3 separate regions of the Homo sapiens genome follow, and regions 1 and 3 are each linked to region 2. The links are contacts of gene promoters, found by promoter capture Hi-C in blood cells and fetal thymus (Javierre and others, 2016). All regions are on one chromosome and are shown on one strand. Each heading gives the region's core, a stretch centred on a gene start or on the middle of the fragment in contact. The rest is flanking DNA. Distances are from core to core; before and after follow the strand shown. Region 1 holds the start of ERLEC1 (endoplasmic reticulum lectin 1). Region 2 holds the start of CFAP36 (cilia and flagella associated protein 36). Region 3 overlaps ASB3 (ankyrin repeat and SOCS box containing 3).

The links. The method cuts DNA at HindIII sites, captures the fragments that hold promoters and counts their contacts. A CHiCAGO score of 5 or more calls a contact.
Region 1: the fragment with the promoter of ERLEC1 here is called in contact with the fragment with the promoter of CFAP36 in region 2 in 2 of 17 cell types (total B cells and naive CD8 T cells); the score reaches 9.4 in total B cells.
Region 3: a fragment that was not itself captured here is called in contact with the fragment with the promoter of CFAP36 in region 2 in 3 of 17 cell types (naive B cells, activated CD4 T cells and naive CD4 T cells); the score reaches 7.1 in naive B cells.

What each region holds. Positions count from the first base shown.
Region 1 is chr2:53,784,654-53,789,168 of GRCh38, reverse strand. It overlaps ERLEC1 (endoplasmic reticulum lectin 1), which reads right to left and starts at 2,125. Exons shown (of 14, transcript NM_015701.5): 1 at 1,797-2,125. The coding sequence starts at 1,958. It overlaps ASB3 (ankyrin repeat and SOCS box containing 3), which reads left to right and starts at 2,216. Exons shown (of 10, transcript NM_016115.5): 1 at 2,216-2,348. The region is part of intron 1 of GPR75-ASB3 (GPR75-ASB3 readthrough); the gene reads left to right. RefSeq lists enhancers at 2,133-2,552, 2,068-2,726. The HindIII fragment of the contact is 9,655 bases long and covers 1-4,515 here.
Region 2 is chr2:55,518,468-55,523,043 of GRCh38, reverse strand. CFAP36 (cilia and flagella associated protein 36) reads right to left here and starts at 3,326. Exons shown (of 10, transcript NM_080667.7): 1 at 3,128-3,326; 2 at 878-942. The coding sequence starts at 3,242. RefSeq lists enhancers at 2,546-2,795, 3,976-4,025. The HindIII fragment of the contact is 7,670 bases long and covers 1,475-4,576 here.
Region 3 is chr2:53,761,573-53,765,769 of GRCh38, reverse strand. It overlaps ASB3 (ankyrin repeat and SOCS box containing 3), which reads left to right. Exons shown (of 10, transcript NM_016115.5): 2 at 185-393. The coding sequence starts at 198. GPR75-ASB3 (GPR75-ASB3 readthrough) reads left to right here. Exons shown (of 10, transcript NM_001164165.2): 2 at 185-393. Among named protein-coding and RNA genes, the nearest start is that of CHAC2, 4.1 kb to the left of the region's middle. The HindIII fragment of the contact is 1,118 bases long and covers 1,958-3,075 here.

The DNA of each region.
Region 1 (4,515 bases), core at 876-3,375, 1.7 Mb after region 2:
CTGCCTCTGCCTCCCAAAGTGCTGGGATTACAGATGTGAGCCGCCGCACATGGCCAAAGCATTTTTTTTTTGAAATAAAATTGTTAGATACGTGAAAAGTTGGTGTAGCAAATGCTAAGACTGAAAGAAAATGGAATGACAATTTGGTAGTGACCTCTAAAAATGCTAGTTTTAGTCGCTCGCTTATAGTAAGTTTTCAGGGCTGCATATCAGCAAGTTTTTTTAAATTAAAAAAAACACAGGTGCCAAGAGTAAAAAATTTTAATGACATAATTCTTCAAACATCTGCCATATTCACTCCAAGTGTGCTCTTTGGATACAACAACAGGTATTAAAGTATTCTCTTCCAAGCCTGCTAAAGTTATATCTGATTCATAACAAAATTTTACATAGGTATTTCAATGTATCAATATTTTGTGGCATTAATACAAAGAGAAATTTGACGTCCCAGAAAAATATTTACCTAGATAAATTCAGAACATTTGGTTCACACATGTAATCCCAGTATTCTGGGAGGCTCAGGCACGAGGATTGCTTGAGCCCAGGAGTTCGAGACCAGCCTAGGCAACATAGTGAGACCCTGCCTCTAGAAAAAAAAAAAAAAATTAGCCAGGAGTGGTGGGATTTCCCTATAGTCCCAGCTACTGGGAAGCTGAGGAGATCTCTTGAGCCCAGGAGGTCGAGGCTGCAGCCAGTGGTGACCGTACCACTGCACTTCAGAATGGGCAACAGACTGAGACCCTGTCTCAAAAAACAAACAAAAACAGAAAAACCCAAACCAAACCAAACCAAACCAAAAAACCCCTAACACTTGCAAATAGAAAGCTATGTGGTAATAACATCCATTAACTTGACACATCTTGTTTTGACATCATAGTGTCACTTACTGTTTCAATGAAATGGTAATGAAAGAATATAATAAAGTATTGCAAGTTGAATGCTTGAAGGTAATTGGAATAAAAAGTTTAAAAAAATTTTGCTTTTTCCGGGACTTCAATTTGAAGTAAATGAGTTAATTACTACATGGTAAGTGTCATAAGAGTACAATATTTATTAGCCTGCAGTAGGTACACGTGGACAGGAAGACTTTTCAGCGGTCCACTCCCCCAAGAGGGAATTTTCATTTCCGCGAGGTTACAAATGTTCTTCACTACAGGAAAACTCAACATAGAAGCTCATGTTCTGGGGACTCAAATAACAGTCGTAATACATGAAAACTGTAAAGGATATTCTGCATAAAGGGTCGTTAACATCTCACAGGCCAAATAGCCCTCTCAGAAACAACTAGGAAAGGAAAAAGTTCCCTTGGAGCTGTGCGTTTGCGTATGTCCGTGTGTGTATACAACTGAGGGAGAACGAATACGAGAGAGGGAACTCGAGTCTGAAGTACTGTGGTGTGGGCAGGGTGACATGTAATACTGAAGGAAAGAAGTCTGCTGGTGAAGTAAGAGCCACAGTTAATTTTCCGAAAGGAAGATGAGTAAGTGCACCTGACGTTATTCTACGAAAGCTGCTTCTGCAGGGTGGGAATGTTGGGAAGCAAGGTCTAGTGCGACAGAATTGAAAAGGTGGAGAGCAGGTGATTGCTGGATCCCTAATGCTCAGCAAGGGGGACGCATCCACATAACGTGAGAACGAACGAATGAATGAACGCTGCATAAAAGCAGCTTTGGCTTGGGGAAGGTAAGAGTCTGCAGAGAAGGTCTTGGGGAGAAAAAGCAAAGAAAACCGAGGGAAGAGGCCGAACCCTTAGTGTCAGGAGGAGGGGTGGCTGCGGGGTTAGTGAGGGCACTGACCAGAGAGAACTCGGTGCCGGGCCAGTTGACTCGGAAAGGGATGTCATCGCTGAGTTGAGGAAGGGCTCGGCCGCCGCCGGACGCCTCCAGGAGGCCGCAGAGGACCAGTAACACCGGCCCGCCCGGGACCAGACTCCGTACGCCGCCGCCTCCTTCCTCCATCCTCCGCCGCCGCTTTCTCCAGCCACCGCCACAACCTCCTCTGCTCCAGGAGGAGAGGAGGAGGAGGAGGAGGTGGAGGAGGAGGCGGCGGGACTATAAAGCGCCCGGGTATCACCGGCCCAACCGCCGCCACGTCTCCTTCCGGAGAGCCCGGCAACGCCGCCTCCGCCCCCTTGAGCCTCCTGTCACCGTTTCCGGGGCAGACGACATATCAACATCCGGGGGTCGCGGAGCCGTCCGCCTACGGGGGCCGGGACGTCGCCTGCGCGTCTCTCGTTTTCGGACGGCTGCAGCATCGCGGTGGGGATCGAAAGCGGGGGCTTCTGGGACGCAGCTCTGGAGACGCGGCCTCGGACCAGCCATTTCGGTGTAGAAGTGGCAGCACGGCAGGTCGGTGAGTCTCGGAGGCGGCAGCCGCTTCCTGAAGCCATTCCCGCTGCTCTCCAGTGGGCAGGCAGAGGTTTGACCCACACGGAGTGATAGCGGGAAGAAGACAGTGTGAACCGTGCGGGTGCGGGTCCTTAGATGAGAAAATTCGAAGTAGCGATGAGATGTGAGAAATGGCGGTGTTCCTGACTGACCTGCCTTCTTGCAGCTTTTCTTCTTTTTCTCCGCATTTGGCATTTGTACACTTCATTTTTCCCGCTTGAGGCTTATCTCCATCTCTTCTGCTGTGGACCGTGGCCATCTCGTTACTTAACAGCTTCTGACTAACGCAGGGCAGTTTGTTCAGCGACTGCAACTCTGTGTTAGGGGAAACCTGGGGTGAGGTAGCCCGCCATCTCCCCGTAGGTGAATACCGCAAGCCTCCGAATTTGGCGTGGTGGGCGACTCTCGTGGAATGGGCAGCTAGACATCACAACCCTACATTTTTACCCTCCATCTCTAGATTGAAGTGTTGGGGTGTTGTTTTATCAAGGAAGCTGGTAAGGTTCCTTATGTGAGGTTTAGCGCCAGATGAATGTGTGTGTTTATGAACTAAGTCACGTCTGACTGCATCCCCAAATTAGACAAAAAGTTTTGTTTTTCCCTCCCCCTCTTTAGAAAAAATGCCATTGTCTGTTTTGATCTCCAATATAATGGACATAGAGTGTTGGCTTTAGAGAAATTACCATTCCCTAAAGCTCGACAGTCTTGCTAGATCTGTTAAAGACTGGTCGCCCCCACTTCCTCAGATTTGAACCAAATCAAAAAGCAGGAAGGACAGTCCCATATTCTATCTTAAAAATTTTTTTTTAACATCAGGAATCCATAGTATCAAAGAAGATAACTTTCTTCAGAATTGTTATTCGCTAATTATATTCAGCACTTCTTATTAATGCTTAATGTGATCCAGACTCCTGGGATTTTTGTTGTTGTTGTTTGTTTTGAGACAAAGTCTCGCTCTGTCACCCAGGCTGGAGTGCAGAGGCATAATCTTGGCTCACTGCAACCTCCGCCTCTGGAGTTCAAGGGATTCTCCTTTTTCTCAGCCTTCCGAGTAGTTGGGATTACAGGCGCGCGCCGCTACACCCTAATTTTTGTATTTTTAGTAGAGGCAGGGTTTCACCACGTTGGCCAGGCTGGTCTCGAACTCCTGACCTCGGGTGATCCGCCCTCCTCGGCCTTCCAAAGTGCTGGGATTACAGGCCTGAGCCACTGTGCCTGGCCCCCCTGGGCTTGGTAAAATGCCAAATAAATGGGTTTCTGTCTTTGGTCACACAGTCTAGGCAGGGAGATTGTACAAACAAATAATTGCAAACTATTATAGTAGTAATAGTCAATTTTTTTTTTTTTTAGCATTTATTCTGTGCTAAGCACTAGTCTTAAGTCATGAAGGAAAAGAGATGTATTTGACGGAATAAAAATGAAAACTGTCTGTGAGGTCCTGTTTTAGCATTTAGGGCTATAGTGATTGAATCTGTGTTCAATAGAGCTGATGTTCAAGTAAGAGGGGAACTTAAATAAGTAAAATAATTTCTAGTATTGGTAAGTGCTGCAAAGAAACTAAGGTTATGTGAAAGACAATACCTGTAGGATGTGTTGCTTTTAGTACGTAAGTCAGAGGAGACTTCTGTGAGGAAGTGACATTTGAATTGTGACTTGAATGATGAAAAGAAGGGAGCCAGACAAATTTCTAGGCAGAGGCCCTGAGGCAGGAATGAGCTTGATGTGTTGGAGTGATAGAAAGAAGGCCAGTGTGGCTGGAGTGTAAGAGGAAAGTGGTAGAAGAAGTTTGAGAAGCAGAAAGAGGCCAGGGAGACAGCTCTGTAGGCAGGAGAGTGGACAGGACCCGATGTACATTTGTGAAGATCATTGTGGCTGCTGTGTGGAAAATTGATTGTAGGGGGTGTTGTGGGTTGAATTGTGTTCCCCAAAAAGACATGTTTAAGTCCTATCCCCTAGAACCTGTGAGTGTGAACTACTTGGGATAGGGTCTTTGCAAATATAATTCAAGTAAGGATGAGGTCATACTGAATCAAAGGGGGCCCTAATCTGGTGACTGGTATCTTTATAAGAAGAGGGAAATTTGGATACACATGGACACACAGGGAGAATGCCATGCCAGGAAGGAGGA
Region 2 (4,576 bases), core at 2,077-4,576:
TCACTGCAGCCTTGACCTTCTGGGCTCAAGAGATCATCCTCCCACTTCAGCCTCCCAAGCAACTGGGACTACAGGCACATGCCATCATGACTGATTAATTTTTGTAATTTTTATAAAGATGGAGTTTCACCATGTTGCCCAGGCTGGTCTCGAACTCCTTGGCTGAAGCAATCCACCTGCCTTGGCCTCCAAAGTGCTGGGATTATAGGTGTGAGCCACTGAGCCCCACTGCCAGAGGCATTTTTTAAAATCACAAGACAGGCTGGGCAGTGGCTCACACCTGTAAACCCAACACTTTGGGAGGCCCAGGCAGGTGGATCACTTGAGCTCTGGAGTTCCACACCAGCCTGGGAAACACAGAGAAACGCCATCTCTACAAAATACAAAAAAATTAGCAGGGCATGGTGGTGCACACCTGTAGTCCCAGCTACTCAGGTGGCTGAGATGGGAGGATCGCTTGAGCCTGGGGAGGTTGAGGCTGCAATAGGCTGTGATAGTGCCACTGCACTCCAGCCTGGGTGACAGAGCAAGACCCTGTCTCAAAAATAAAAAATAAAAAAATCACATGACAACCATGACGAAGTGAATAATTAATATGTCCCTGGATGCGTCAACAAAATAAGAATAAGATATAAAGAATACATGCAAGAACCCATAAAGAGTTGTAAAACCATTCCTTAGAGTAGAGGAGATAAGTCATCCAAATGAGATATTCAGAGCACCTGTGGAGACAGATATAACTGGCACTATTGTTAAGGTAGATTGGATTTTTGTAAAATTAAGGATTTTTAATGTAAAAATATTTTTCTTCATTTAGAAAAGCTATAAGTAGTATTAGCCTAATTACTTTTAAAAATCAGTGAAAAAAAATACTCACTAGTTCTTTGTATTCCTGATGAATCTCTGTATAGGTCAATTTGCTTTCTTCTTCATCATCAAAAACTAAATTTAAAAGAAAATATTACATAGTGTAAAAACCAAATCATTTTATTAATGCAAATTTAAAAATCCACTCCTTCCAAATAGAACTGTCAACCTAGCTCTTCAGCTTTGAATTCTTAGGGTTTATCTTTTAAAAATATATAAATGAATATATCTAAAAATATATACTATTGGCCGAGCACTGTGGCTCATGCCTGTAATCCCAGCACTTTCGGAGGCCAAGGTGGGTGGATCACCTACGATCAGGAGTTCGAGACCAGCCTGGCTGATGTGGTGAAATCCCATCTCTACTAAAAATACAAAAATCAGCCAGGCGTGGTTGTGCGCGCCTGTAGACCCAGCTACTCGGGAGGCTGAGGCAAGAGAATTGCTTGAACCCAGGAGGCGGAGGTTGCAGTGAGCCAAGATTGCACCACTGCACTCCAGCCTGGGCGGCAGAGTGAGACTCCATCTCAAAAAAAAAAAAGAAAAAAAAATATACACACACACACACACACACACACACATATATACTATTAATTGTAAACAAGCTTTTTTGCCTACTTGAGAAAATATTTAAAATGAATACTACCTCATATTTAAGACAAAAACACATTTCAATCAATATGAGGCAATAATTTCTTCATAACTTTTAATGTAATATTATTGTTAATGGTTAAATCCTTTTACAATAGGTTCCATATTATTTTATTGTACTGGAATTTTGCTGATGTAAATGTTACTGAAAGTGACCAGGCAATTTTTGTTACCACAGATAAATAATGAAGTTAAATAAAATCAAAACAAGTGTTTACTGAATGATCATATGTATAAAACAATGCAGTGAGCCAAGATCACGCCACTGCACTCCAGCCTGGGCAACAGAGCGACACTCTGTCTCCCAAAAAAAAAAAAAAAAAAGGAGTACAAATACAAGTTATTTTGTTTTTGAACATTGTTAAAAAATTACCTGTAAAAATAACACTTTAATAACTACGATTTGAATATTGATTATAGCAATGAAAATGTAATGAAAAGATTCAGTGGTCAAACTGAATTTCATCTTTACCAGATTCATGATATCTTGGAATTTAAAGAAGTCTTAAAAGGTCATCCAGGATAACCGACCATTTGATAGCTGAATAGCTGAATCCCTCTAACCCTATTAAGTCGCTATCAGATCCATTCAAACACTGCTGGAGCCGGGAAGCTCATTACCTTCTGAGGCTGGCTAACTCATCTTGGATACATTCTATCATGAAACACTTCCTTCACTGAAATTTGTTTCCCTGTAGCTTGTACCAACTGACCCTAGCTCTATTCTACTCAACCTTACAACACAAAGCAGATGTTCAAATAATTGATGAATACTACTACCCTCAAAGTCTTGCCCGATTAAACAACCACAATAACGCTTGGGCACTCATTTATATGACGTGGTTTCTGGTTCCTTTTCTGCGAATGGGCTGCAAATAGTCTCCACGAACTGAATGCAGAACTCCAAGCCTGAAGAACTGCTCAGAACCCGGAGATGCCTGTCCTTCACGGGGAATATTATGCCATATCTATACGCCTCATTTGTTCCAAGAATGGTCCTGCCCCACCTCGCCAATTTTTGGTATAGCGAAGAGTAGAGAGCTCACCAAGGGGAACACAGGCCACCAAAATCACCGGCTCTGGGCTTCCTGGAGTTATCACATGCCCTCCTTTGCAGTTAACTGTTGGTTTGGAGTGAAATCATTTCTCATTTCCTAAGCTGACTACACCGGGCGAAATGCTAGGGATCATAAGGAACTCAGGTAAACCGACGCTTCTCCTCTCAAGTCTGGCAAAGCTGTTGAAGAAGCCCAGCCAAACAGTCCACCTGCCGAGGGCAGAAACGTTCGGGACAGGGTGAGAGACCGAATTTACGATTCAAGTCTAATGTTCTTCGGACGTGCGCTTCGGCCCCAGAGAAGGGGAGTCTCGGTCCCCGTTTTCAGGTCTGCGAAGGAACACATTGGCAGGGTGAAAGGAATTCCTCCCACACAACCAGCTCTAAACCTGATGACGCGGGTGGAGAAGGTGGTGAGGGGAACGAGACCTTGCGACAGGGGTGGAGACAGGGGGTCGGGGAGACGAGAGATGGCTTGTGGTTACCAACCCCCTGCCCGCCGCTGGTGTGAGAGAGGAGAAAAGGATTGTCGGTTCGGGCTCTGGTTTTTACCTTCACATTTCTGTTCCACAAAGTCCAAGATGGGGATGGACCAGTCTGGGCCTCGCAGGAACCCCGCGATGCTCTCCACTACCCACTCCACCTCGTCTTCTTCTTCCGCAGCCATCCCGCCCCAAAGGGGCAACGGGGAAGATCCCTAGGCCAGACCGCCGGACCCCGGTTAGGCCTTTGGGCCACAAGGAGCCGAGAGGGAGTAGGGGAAGAGCTGGCCCGCAGTCGCTCAGCCCCCAGGATAGAAGCTACCAACCAGTTAATGCAAAATGGTCGCTATGGCAACACACGTAGCCGCCCTAGACCGCGGCCCGGAAGTGAAGACAACTTTCCAGGAGCCTGCGCACTTAGCGGGGAGGGCAAACGTTTGAAAAACGTTTCTGATTGGTTAAAAAAGAACAGTGGACGAGGGCTGAGAAAAGAAGTGTAGCTATTGGCTGGAAGTCATAGACAGATTGCGCTCTCTCTTCTGATAAATGCGTAGGAGCCAAGGTTTAGAAAACGCGCAGTAGACGGGCGCGGTGGCTCACGCCTGTAATTCCAGCACTTTGGGAGGCCGAGGCTTGCGGATCACCTGAGGTCAGGAGGTCGAGACCAGCTTGGCCAACATGGTGAAACCTCGTCTCTACCAAAAATACAAAAATTAGCCTGGCGTGGTGGCGCCGCCTGTAATCCCAGGTACTCGGGAGGCTGAGGCAGGAGAATCGCTTGAACCCGGGAAGCCGAGGTTGCAGTGAGCCACTGCACTGCAGCCTGGGAGACTGCGTCTCAAAAGAAAAACAGGAAGAAAGAAAAGAAAAAAGAAAAGGCTCAGTGAGGGTCTGAGGTAACCGGGTCTCCACCTGACAGGGCTTCAGCGGCTGCAGTTCATCATTGTATCCCCAGCACCTCAGTCCCAACCATTTTCAGACCATTGGCCCAGAGGCGTTTGTAATTAAAGGGTTGTCTGAAAATACAAAGCCGAGCTGTGTGAGACTCGCTGATTGTCTTACGGTCAGTTTGCATCTGTATCTTCAGGCGGGTCTTTAATCTCTTACGCTTGGATAAAGATAACTAGAATTAGGAGCTTTTCAAGGGCAAGAGCAAAGTTAATACTCACTTAAATAAATGCCTTGGTAACCAAATCTTATTATAACTCCAACTCAGCATTTAGGTGGAGTCCATTGTGGAATGGGGTCTTCAGTGGTCATTGTGAAGGTGTTTGGAGTCCCAAAATATCTTCAGACAACCATATATATATATATATTTTTTACATAAATAGGATTATATGTACAGTTATGAATTTTTTTCTTATATCTTTATCTTTTAAAAATATAAATTTGTGCTTTCTTTGCAACTGCATAGTATTCCATAAACCATCCTTTAGTCTATTTTTATTTTGTGAATGTGCACACAGTATCTTACCTGAATGCATGAAGATGATCATTATGTGCCTTTTTTTTTTTTTTT
Region 3 (4,197 bases), core at 1,267-3,766, 1.8 Mb after region 2:
ACAGAGAAACTTCCTGCTTTAGGCACCAGCAGAGACTGTGGCATGGCAGTCACTTTCTGTATTGTGGGCCCTTCTTCGTCAGTCATGTGAGAGATACTAGACAGGCCCACCGTGATTTGCTGACCTCTAGGAGTGAAGTGTTGTTTTATTGACTATAGTATTATCCTTCTACCTTGTTTTGTAGACTGGTCAAACAAATGGATTTTACAGAGGCTTACGCGGACACGTGCTCTACAGTTGGACTTGCTGCCAGGGAAGGCAATGTTAAAGTCTTAAGGAAACTGCTCAAAAAGGGCCGAAGTGTCGATGTTGCTGATAACAGGGGATGGATGCCAATTCATGAAGCAGCTTATCACAACTCTGTAGAATGTTTGCAAATGTTAATTAATGCAGGTAAAGTAAATTCAAGGTATGGAGGCTTTGCCTACAAGCTGGATTAATAAAACATAAAAAAGTATAATACATAACTTATTAACAGTAGTATTTGTTTCCCTTTCTATAGTCATAAAATAACTGCCTGAATTTATTTATTAAGGATAGTAAGATTGCCTGCCTTGGATTCAATTAGTATGATACTCTAGTTGGACATCTTATACGGAAGTGCCTCTGTCTGGCCTCTTTTTATTGACTGAGCTAGGTGATATGGGAGAAGTAGTCTGCTGTTTGAATTTAAGCATTTGGTAGTTACTGGTCATGTTTATTCTTTCTTCCTTTACCAAACAGAAAGAGCAATTGTACTGAAATTGAGGATGTGTTTTGATTGAATTAGTCTTTTTCTTTTTAAACACTTTTTAATACTTTTGGGAATTTTTACAACTACTTAGCATGAAACAAGATGCCTGCCTTCCTGATGCTTTTTCTTGTCAGAGGAAACAGATGACAAATATCTAAATAATTAAACAAGATAATTTAAAAAGGTAAAAGTGTTATGAAGAAAATAAAACAAAGTAGAGATAATAAAACAGATGGGATAGACAAAAATGGTGTGCTACTGCACATCTCTTTACATCTCTGCATTCAGTGACTTCATGCTTGGGATCGGCCATGGTAGGAGTATTTACACCACAGAAACAAGCCAGTGCTACAAACCAGTGCTATAAACTGGGCTTTCTTCCCTCTGGACAGCTAGTTATTAAATGTTAACCAGCACACTACTGAGTGAAGGTCATTGACTAAAGGCGAGATTCTGACATTTAGTATAGAGGGGGTAGGAAGAAAACAAATGGTGACTGAGCATTGCTTTGTGATAGTCATTGTGCCACATGCTCAATTTATCTTCTTTATCTAATATTTATAAAAATGGTGTTAGAGGCAGTATTATCCTCATTTTATTGGTGAAAAGACCAAGGCTCAGAGAAGTTGACTTGTAAAAGGTTACATAATAAACTAGGGTATTTGATTTGAACCCATTTCTCTGACTCTAAAGCCCTTTTTTTTCCTCTCATACCAAGCTTCTAACATTTAATTGAATGAATTTATAGCATTCAGTTAAAATGAGGTTGACTATAATACTCTGCATTGTAACACTCAGAACCAATTTCATTTCATTGATCGTGGAAATTCAGACCCTCTTTCCTGCATACTTGTCATCACCAGGTATAGGTCCTTAAAATATAAACTTCTGGGTCCATAGCCCATCAGAACTACTAATTTGTTACCTGCTGGACGGGAAAGGAAATAATCTTTACATTGTTTTTGGTAGTGGTAGGTGTTTTTTTTGTTGTTGTTGTTTTGTTTTTTTCTTTTTTTTGTCTTAACAGGTAAGAGATGGTAAGGCTAAACTTCCTAAATCATAATGCAGGAAATTTGTCATGATTGTTTTTAAAATCACATGTTCAAGTGTCTAGTGTCTATTATAGTTGAGTGTTTGAAGATAGTGGAAAAATAGATGTTATTCCTCTAATTTCAAACGCTTAAGATATGTTTTCAGAATCTGTTTGAAGTTAACTATAAAGCTTGAGTTCCCAAACTATTTTTAGTAACAAAGACATGAGTTTGAATATCCTTTTCTAGGCAAAAAGCTCATTTCCAATATACTGTTACATCTCTTCTTCATATCGGAATAGTGTAGTTTATGTTACAGATTTTTTTCATCTGCTGAGTAAACTTGGGCATGCTTTTGACTAAAGGCATTTGAACTGGCTGTTAAATTCATCTCTACAGTTGTCCTGCCATATCCACAGGGAATTGGTCCCAAAATGTCCACGGACACCAAAATTCATGGATGCTCCTCAAGTTCGGCAGTCTGCCCTGAAGATAGGAAAACGTCCTATACACACATACAAAAGGTCAGCCGTCTGTATCTGTGGGTTCCACATCCTACAAATGCTATTATCTTCCATCCCAGTTGGTTGAATCTGCAGGTGCAAAACCCGTGGATACAGAAGCCCGACTGTATTTCCTTTTTTTCTGAGACAGAGTCTTGCTCTGTTGCCCAGGTGGGAGTGCAGTGGTGCGACCTCAGCTCACCACCACCTCCACCTCCCAGATTCAAGCGGTTCTCCTGCCTCAGTCTCCCAAGTAGCTGGGACTACAGGTGCACACCACCAATGCCTGGCTAACTGTCTCACTTTGTTGCCGAGGCTGGTCTCAAACCCTTGGCTCAAGTGATCCTCCTGCCTTGGCTTCCCAAAGTGCTGGGATTACAGGTGTGATGCATCACACCTGCTGTCTTTTATTATATAATTTTCCTACCTCCCTGAGGTTTATCTAATATTAATACACTGTCAGAGATTCCTAAAAGATAATTAGTGCACCCAAATAAGAAGGTATGTAGGCCTACACAAATAAAATGGAAATATCTAAAATGATTAGAAGAGTTTTGCTTCACTGTCTCTTCAATTTAGATTTGGAATCCATTCTGAGTACCATACATGGTCTTCTGACTCAAGTTGGAGAAGAGCATTCAAGTGTGGTGTAGATTACATAGAAGTTTAATATGCATACATATTTTTGTATTTCTTATGTATCTCATTTTAGTTTTCTGTTTAACATATTAGCACAGATAACAAATTTGCTTGTCTTCTCTCCTGTATTGGAGGTTGGGTGTAATGGGTGTTGAGATTTTATGAAGCTTGTCATCCTGGAGGGCAGTAATGATCTTCACTGACAATTAATGCCATTCAATAATAAGTCATTTGCTGACTAAAAGTCCCTTAAAAATCTTATAATTATTAAGCATATAGCTAAAAAATACTTTTATTTGGCTAATAAATGATCTAGCTCATAGTATTTTTTATTAGTTCATGTTAAATAAGAAAATACGCACTAATACTGGGCACAGTAACAGATGCAGAAGTTCCTTAGACAAATAAATCATTGTAGCACAGCGATTAAGAGTTACGGTCAGATGGACCTGAATTCTAGTGACTCTACCATTTTATTGGTGTGACTTTGGACAGGTTTTTTAACCTCTAAGTGGTTTAGTTTTTTCATCTGTTAGATAGAAATATTCCATTGTTCCAGCTCAGGCCAGAAACTCTGGGCCATCATTAATTCCTTTCTTTTTCTCATATTTCTCATCTAGTCAGTCAGCAAATTTGTGTATGTGTATGTCTATATTTGTGTGTATGTATACACACACACACACACACACACAGTTAGATCACTTCTCACTACCATTAATACCTTGTCTGCGTTGCTATAATAGCATCTTAACAGATCTTCTCTATCTGCCATTGCTCCTTCTGCATCCTATGACAGACCACCCTCAATATATTAGAGGGATCATTTTAAAATGCAACAGACCAAGTCACTCTTCTGCTCTCTTGAGTGAAAACACTTTTGTGTAGTATTTCATGGTAGAGATGTAATGTAATTTATGTAACCATTCTTCTATTGATAGATATTTTGTTTGTTTCCTAAAGTTTTGCTGTTATAACTAGTGATTCAGTGAACATCCTTATGTATATATCTTTGTCTACATGGTTAACCATTTCTGTAGGATGGAGTTTTAGAAGTGCAATTACTGTTTGATAAGTTAGAGTTTCCTGGAGAAATAGAACCAATAGAATATATATAGATAGACAAGAGGGGATTTACTATGGGAATTGGCTAATGTAATTATGGGAGCTGAGAAGTCCCATCATATGCTCTCTGTAAGATGGAGAACCAGGAAAGCTGGTGGTGTAACTCACCCTAAGTCTGAAGGCCTGAGAACCAGGGGAAGTGATAGTGTAACTCTCAGTCTGAGGCCAA